Regions from separate parts of the Homo sapiens genome. Here region 1 is linked to region 2. Evidence: promoter capture Hi-C in human tissues and cell types (Jung and others, 2019). All regions are on one chromosome and are shown on one strand. The core of a region is centred on a gene start or on the middle of the fragment in contact, and the rest is flanking DNA. Distances in the headings are between cores, read along the strand shown. Region 1 overlaps PHACTR1 (phosphatase and actin regulator 1). Region 2 holds the start of PHACTR1 (phosphatase and actin regulator 1).

Region 1 (3,130 bases), core at 548-3,047, 85 kb after region 2:
ATGTCTCATTGTATGCCATTGTTTTTTCTCTTAAAGTTAAAAGAGTGACTCCTAATTTTAATATGTGTAGAGTTCATTAGGGAAGTCATAATGAAGAGAGTGAGCTATTCGATCTAGAAAATATTGAGTTAAGAAAGTTTGGAAGTTGAAGCCAGGTGCCGTGCCTCATACCTGTAATCCCAGTACTATGGGAGGCCAAGGAGGACAGATTGCTTGAGGACAGGAGTTCAAGACCAGCCTGGGCAACATAGTGAAACCCCAGCTCTACAAAAGTAAAATAAAATTTAGCACAGACTGGTAGCATGTGCCTGTAGTCCCAGCTCTTTGGGAGGCTGAGGTCGGAGGATCACCTGAGCCCTGGAGGTCCAAGGCTACAGTGAGCCCTGATCCTGCCACTGTACTCCAGCCTGGGTGTCACAGTGAGACCCTGTCTCAAAAGAAAAAGAAAAAAAAAAGAAGGAAGATAAAAAGCCAATTTGATTAGTTCATTTTCTAAATGGTGAATTATGCCAATACATTTTTGAGTTTAATAATTTTTTAAATAACATGAAGTTATTGGGAAAACAGTACAGTATATGGTAATTATTTACTGGGATTCTTTAGGGCCTTTGATTTTTGTTCTCAAGATAATAATGCTGAAAATAGATGTAATGATATGTGCCTTAAATTAATCATTTGTATTGGTGAAGTAACTTGGACAAAGATTTAGAGCATGTTAATATATTTTGATAATAATGTAGAAGGGGGAATGTATTATAAAAAGGCTGAAAAGGTCGTTGCAAATGAATCATAGAAGAACACCATCTAACTTGTTGATAAAGCCTCATTGTGCGTGTTAAGTTAGTGAGATGGTCAACAGTGGCCACGTGCCTCCTAGTCTGCCCAGCAGCATTGTTGCCACATACTTGCTTGAGCAAAATGTTGTCAGTACTTCACTACCCAACTATGTATGGCTTGGCCATCTCATTATCAAAAGAATGTAGGCAAACTAGAGCAAGTTCATAAGGGGCCATGAAAGTGATTATAAGGGTTCACACATAAGAATAAAAATAAAAAAGAACAGAATATTCTCACTGCTTGGCTGATAGACTATGACGGGGTATGGATGGCAGAAGGGGGAGGAATTAATTGCAGAGAAGGAGCTAAGAAGTCTGTAGAAGTTTAGGAAGGAAGCATTTAGTAGAATCTTGGGATTTTAAAGCTGTAAGGCATCTTAGAGATCATCTGGAGATTTGGTTGGAATTAATGAGGCTAAATTAAGCTGAGAAAGCTTGACATAAAAAGCAAGAAAAACTGTCTGCAAATGAGAATTATTTAATATAGCTTTATTGAGCAAAGAAGAATCTCTGCCTCAGTTCTTCTCCAATATGTTAGATTCCTAGAATTTGAGGTCCTCTTGCAACATTTCAGCTAATGCCTTTACTCATAGGAATCAGGAATTAGGTTTCCGAGGAGTGACTAAATAAATTGTCAGACATTGTCTTTTGATGACCTTGTTTACCATTACTTATATTGGTGGCCTCATCTGATTCAAATTTAGAAAATTGCATAGGTTTGGTGTGATCATTAAACCTTACATAACCCTTTGAATTTATATGCCCTTTAAGTCATAGGAAAATTGAGCTACATATTATATAAAATAATTTTATTTTATATAATAAATGTACTTTATTATATAAAATAATATGTAGCTCAATTTTCCTATGACTTAAAGGGCATATAAATATAACTGGCATTAATAGCCAGTTAATGCCAAAGGTGATGAGTAGATCTGACTTCCACCTATGCTTTTCTTTTTCCAACATAATAACTTATTGAATAAAACAATTATTTCTTAGTTCTTATAAGTTCATACTCCTCATTGGCAATTTACTATAACGTAAAAGAAAAAGGAACAGTCTTAGGAACAAAAAGCTACACACAAAATTAGTCATTTTTGTGTGCAGGCAAATGGAATATATAATTAGGCTAAAATAAAAGCAGAACAGGAACAAATTAAAACAAGAAAAATGATGTATATACAAGTATCAGAAGAGGAGCAATTAGAGATGACCTGCCAGATCAGAGTGATTCTAAGAAATGTGGAATGTATTTTCTTTATTATACTGAATCTAAAATGCCATCAACCGTAGGATGTACCATTATTTTCTCTGCCACCAAAAAAGAGAAAACCAATTAAACTATGACGCAATGCTTTTTTATCCCATCAAGTACAAGATACATTCTGATTTCTTAAATGCTAAAATGTTTTTACAACTGTGAATTTGGAATCTATAAAATATAAAATTTTAAGCTTAACTCCATAGGAATGGATTACCTCTCTAAGCTCAGTGTTTACGATCTTGATGGAAAGCCCCTTGGCACCCAAGATTCTCGTCTCTATCATTTTATTCCGAGAGAAGACGTTTTAAAAGTGACTGCAAGTTTTGAGTTTGGTTTCCCATTTTAAAAGAAAATCAATTCAGTGTATTCCTTACTCTTGAATGACAAAAGTGGCAAGATAAAAACCCTATGTGAAGATAGCTAATATATGTGGCTTTGTAGAGGAGCCACCTTCCATGATATGATGAAGGTGAACACGTGTGTTAAAATTCCAGGCTGCCATAACTTTTCCCCTTTCAAAGCTTGTGTGTTAAACTGTGATCTGCTGACAAGCCACACTGTCTTATCTGTGCACTGCTCAAGAACTGTGCACTGCTTCTACTTGGTCCTATTATTGTGTCACTTCTTGACAGGTTCTCTTGTTTGAAAGTTCTATGTGTCAACCCCGCTGCGTTCAATAATTCACAGATCTCTGGCACCCTTGAGCCAAAAGCTGAGAGGAGGCTGTGGCAGGACTGAGATTGGTGGTCTCTCTTTTTCACTTCTTCCCCTCTCATCCTTGCACCTGCTCCAGTCCTCTGACTGAGTCCACAGCCCCTCACAGAAAAGGAGGAGGAGACATATTAGGGAAGGTGAGGAAGACTAAAGAACACTCTACAGCAGATTGGGCCTCCCGAAAGGAAGAAGAGGAAATTAAGGGTCACAAAAACGTGCCAAAACCATGCTACTCTCAAGCAGCCTCACCTTACACTATACTTCTTGCACTCTTAGAGTGTAAAATGTACTTGAATAAATAGGACAAAGAAAC
Region 2 (3,128 bases), core at 107-2,606:
TTCTTGGTCAACTCTCCAGAAATGACTGACTTCCAAATCCACCACCTACCCCCTGGGAATCAACTCTATTTTTCACATTTCCAGTTTAGCATCTCTTTCTTCAATCACACATTCATTTGCACTCACCTAAAGGTTTGGTCAGCAGCATAGACTTATACTCTCTCTCTCTCTCTTTCTCTCATCTATGAGTCATTACAATTTCAGTAGAATTACAATAACGAGTTCAGAACCTGTCGCCCACACCTCACAGTAAGTAAAAGGAACCAGAAGACAGCTTTCTCCTCTTATAAATGTCAAGTGTTCAGCATGTCTCCAGTGGGTGCTGAATAGAAAAGTAACCTTAAAGAAGTCAGTCCTTGGGTTGGAGCAAAGCTTTCAGAATTCAGAGTCCATAGTTGACTTTCCTACAAGGGCATATGATTGGTAGTTTCAGCTTCCTTTTTCATGAGGCTTAACTGTCTGCAGCACCGGCTTGGTGTCTGATCTGTTCTGATCGGGTGGGAGAGGGAGACCCCACAAAACAAACAGCAGAGGATTTTCAGGTTTGTTTCAAGGGCAGCCAGCCGAGCTGTGTATAGGGAGTGGGGGGACAGGGGTGGTGTTGATGGTCTTCCTTCCGAGGCTTATCAAATGTAAATGCTCTTTTCTTAACAAGCTGACCCACTGTACACCACACCATACTAATGAGCAATTCTGCTTGGTCAACAAAGGGTGCAAGAGGTTGTGGAAAACCCACAGTAGGGCTTGCATTTGGCTATCACTATGCCCTGCATGAAGATCTCAAAGTACTGTGCCTAAAAGTCATTACTGAGGTTTGGTAGGAAGAATATTAAACCAGAATAACTTGAGATACTAGCCAAAGTTTATTTTTGTTGTTGGTATTATTTTGTTACATTCAGACAGAGAGAAATGCATTTAGGCAGACTGGCATGATCTGCGCTGGATATTTGACCAGGCAATCAGAAGCAAGGAAAGGAAGAAAGCCAGGCAAGAGGGAAGGGGTGACATCAAACGTGCCCTCTGTATTTCGCTCCAGAAAACAGCTCACAATTATGACTACCTGCCTTGTTTTGCAGCTCAGCATAAAAGTGGTGTTGCACCAAACCCTACTGGAGCAGCCTTCATGATTAGAAAGTACTCCACACCTTGGAGAGCTGAGGAGACATGAGAATAATTTTAAATGCAAATTAAATTGAGGGGGTAGCAGAGAAGAACACATAAAAGACAGTAAAACAAAACCTTTCAATTTTCTTAAATTAGCAGTCTAATGTGTTCTAAAGAGCAGCTCCACTCAGATCTCTTCTTAAGGGTTGCATTTCATCACAGTATAAATGGGCAAATCCATCACTTCCCTCTGCTCAGTGCTCTTGAAGCGAGATTGAAGGGAAAATTAGAAGCTGTTCATTTGTGCTTGCGGGCTCAGAAGCGTCGCACTGCTTTGTTTTGTACTCTACCGTGTCCTGTTGAAAGGGGTCAACAAGTGCCGGTGAGTATCCGCTAACTTCCAGACTCTTCCTTTCAAATATCTTTTTGGCTAATTTTCCTTTGCCGGGGATGGGGGTTGTGGGGGGAGTGGGGATCTCCCACAAAATCTATGCTATAATATGTCTTTCAGAATCTGGGAAATTTCAGACAGCTTTTTAAGCTTCTTCCAGTGACTGATTTGCAGAAGGGAAGAGTTATTTTCAGCCTAGATGCCGGTGGCTGTTCTGTGTATTAATTATAACAGGGGAATGTCTAACGTATGTTAAGCTAAAATGGCCTTTCCCTAAACTCCCCCATTCCCTGCCACTCTTAGGCCAGCATTAGGGTAATAACTGGTGCCCCCACAAAAATTTCTAGACAACTTTTCTATATATTAAATTTTTAATCATTTCATATTCTATTCTTTTGTAGCTGCAAATCAAACTAAGATTTGGGATTATGAAAATAAACAATGAAGACATAAATCTGTTTTGTTTTTTTTTTAATGACTATGGCACTTCTCTGCCTAAGAGATAGGGGGCTGGGGAATAGCCCTGCATGATGTATGCATGTGGATTTGATGATTTTCTGCCAAAGTTTTACACGGGAAACTGGTAATTTTCTCCCTTCGCAGGGGAGGGTGCAGAGGCTGAGGCTGGCGTCACCTTCCGTTGCTAAGGTAACGTGCTCTGGCCATTTTATCTGATAAAGGAAGTCCAGTGGACTGTATGCATTATTCATCACTGTTCTAATCAAACAATCAAAATCGTTTACTTTCACCGGGAATATTTAGCAAGATCAAAGACACTCTGGCTGGAACGGCTCTTGTTTTACCGCTGACAGATAGCCTTTGATTTTTATTTTTTGCAGTAAGTATATTTGCTATTGGGGTACCTTTGGGTATTTTTAAAAGTTTTGTCTTACCGGACTTGGTTTCTTAAATTAAAATACATACTGTTAGAAAGAGAAACCAATTGGATTAGACTTCCAAGCTTGGTTTTAATGACTTTGTCTTGTTAATTCTTTCCAAAAAAATATTCTGCAGAAATAGAGATAATTCATTTGTGTGAGTATCAGGGAAAGGCTACATAGGCTTGAAAAAAGAACCCAACAGGCTGAATGTTTTCTGGGGAAGTATATTAGCTTTGTGACAGGCTAGTGTATGATAATATAGGGATCACTGTAATGCTGCAATCATTCTTGCTGCTCTACAAACCACAATTGTTTCTCAAAAATCAGCCCCTGCCAGGCACAGGCAGGTGACGATCCTCTAGCACTTTATAAAATGTGCTGAAGGGAATCGCCGGAAAGGAAGGAATTCAAAGCATTTGTACAGCAAATATGTCAGTGTGTGTCATAAACGCACGGCATCTATGAGTGGAGGCTCGGATTCCCAGGCAATTTTCCCTGCTCCAGGGGAATCCGAAAGTCCCAGGATGAGCTGAGGATCAACACTCACAACGGCTGACACTTAATGACGCTATTTATCAAATAGACCTTTTGAAAACTGATAGCATGTGAATTTAACAGTATATGTTCCAGAGAATATAAAGCAAGGAAAGGCTGGTATGTTATCTCTCTTTAGATCAGATCATCTGTTTTTCCTGAGTAGAATATATTACTTTTAATGAATGTTGGCTAAATGCGGCATTTTCTCACACGGT

What was found. The method cuts DNA at HindIII sites, captures the fragments that hold promoters and counts their contacts. A contact is called where the count stands out against the background at its distance.
Region 1: a contact is called between a fragment that was not itself captured here and the fragment with the promoter of PHACTR1 in region 2, in 3 of the 25 tissues and cell types used here (dorsolateral prefrontal cortex, hippocampus and spleen).

The regions. Positions count from the first base shown.
Region 1 is chr6:12,800,455-12,803,584 of GRCh38, forward strand. The region is part of intron 4 of PHACTR1 (phosphatase and actin regulator 1); the gene reads left to right. Among named protein-coding and RNA genes, the nearest start is that of PHACTR1, 85 kb to the left of the region's middle. The HindIII fragment of the contact is 4,540 bases long and covers 1-3,130 here.
Region 2 is chr6:12,715,411-12,718,538 of GRCh38, forward strand. PHACTR1 (phosphatase and actin regulator 1) reads left to right here and starts at 1,357. Exons shown (of 15, transcript NM_030948.6): 1 at 1,357-1,486; 2 at 2,099-2,333. The region is part of intron 1 of LOC107984015 (a long non-coding RNA gene); the gene reads right to left. The HindIII fragment of the contact is 3,467 bases long and covers 1,009-3,128 here.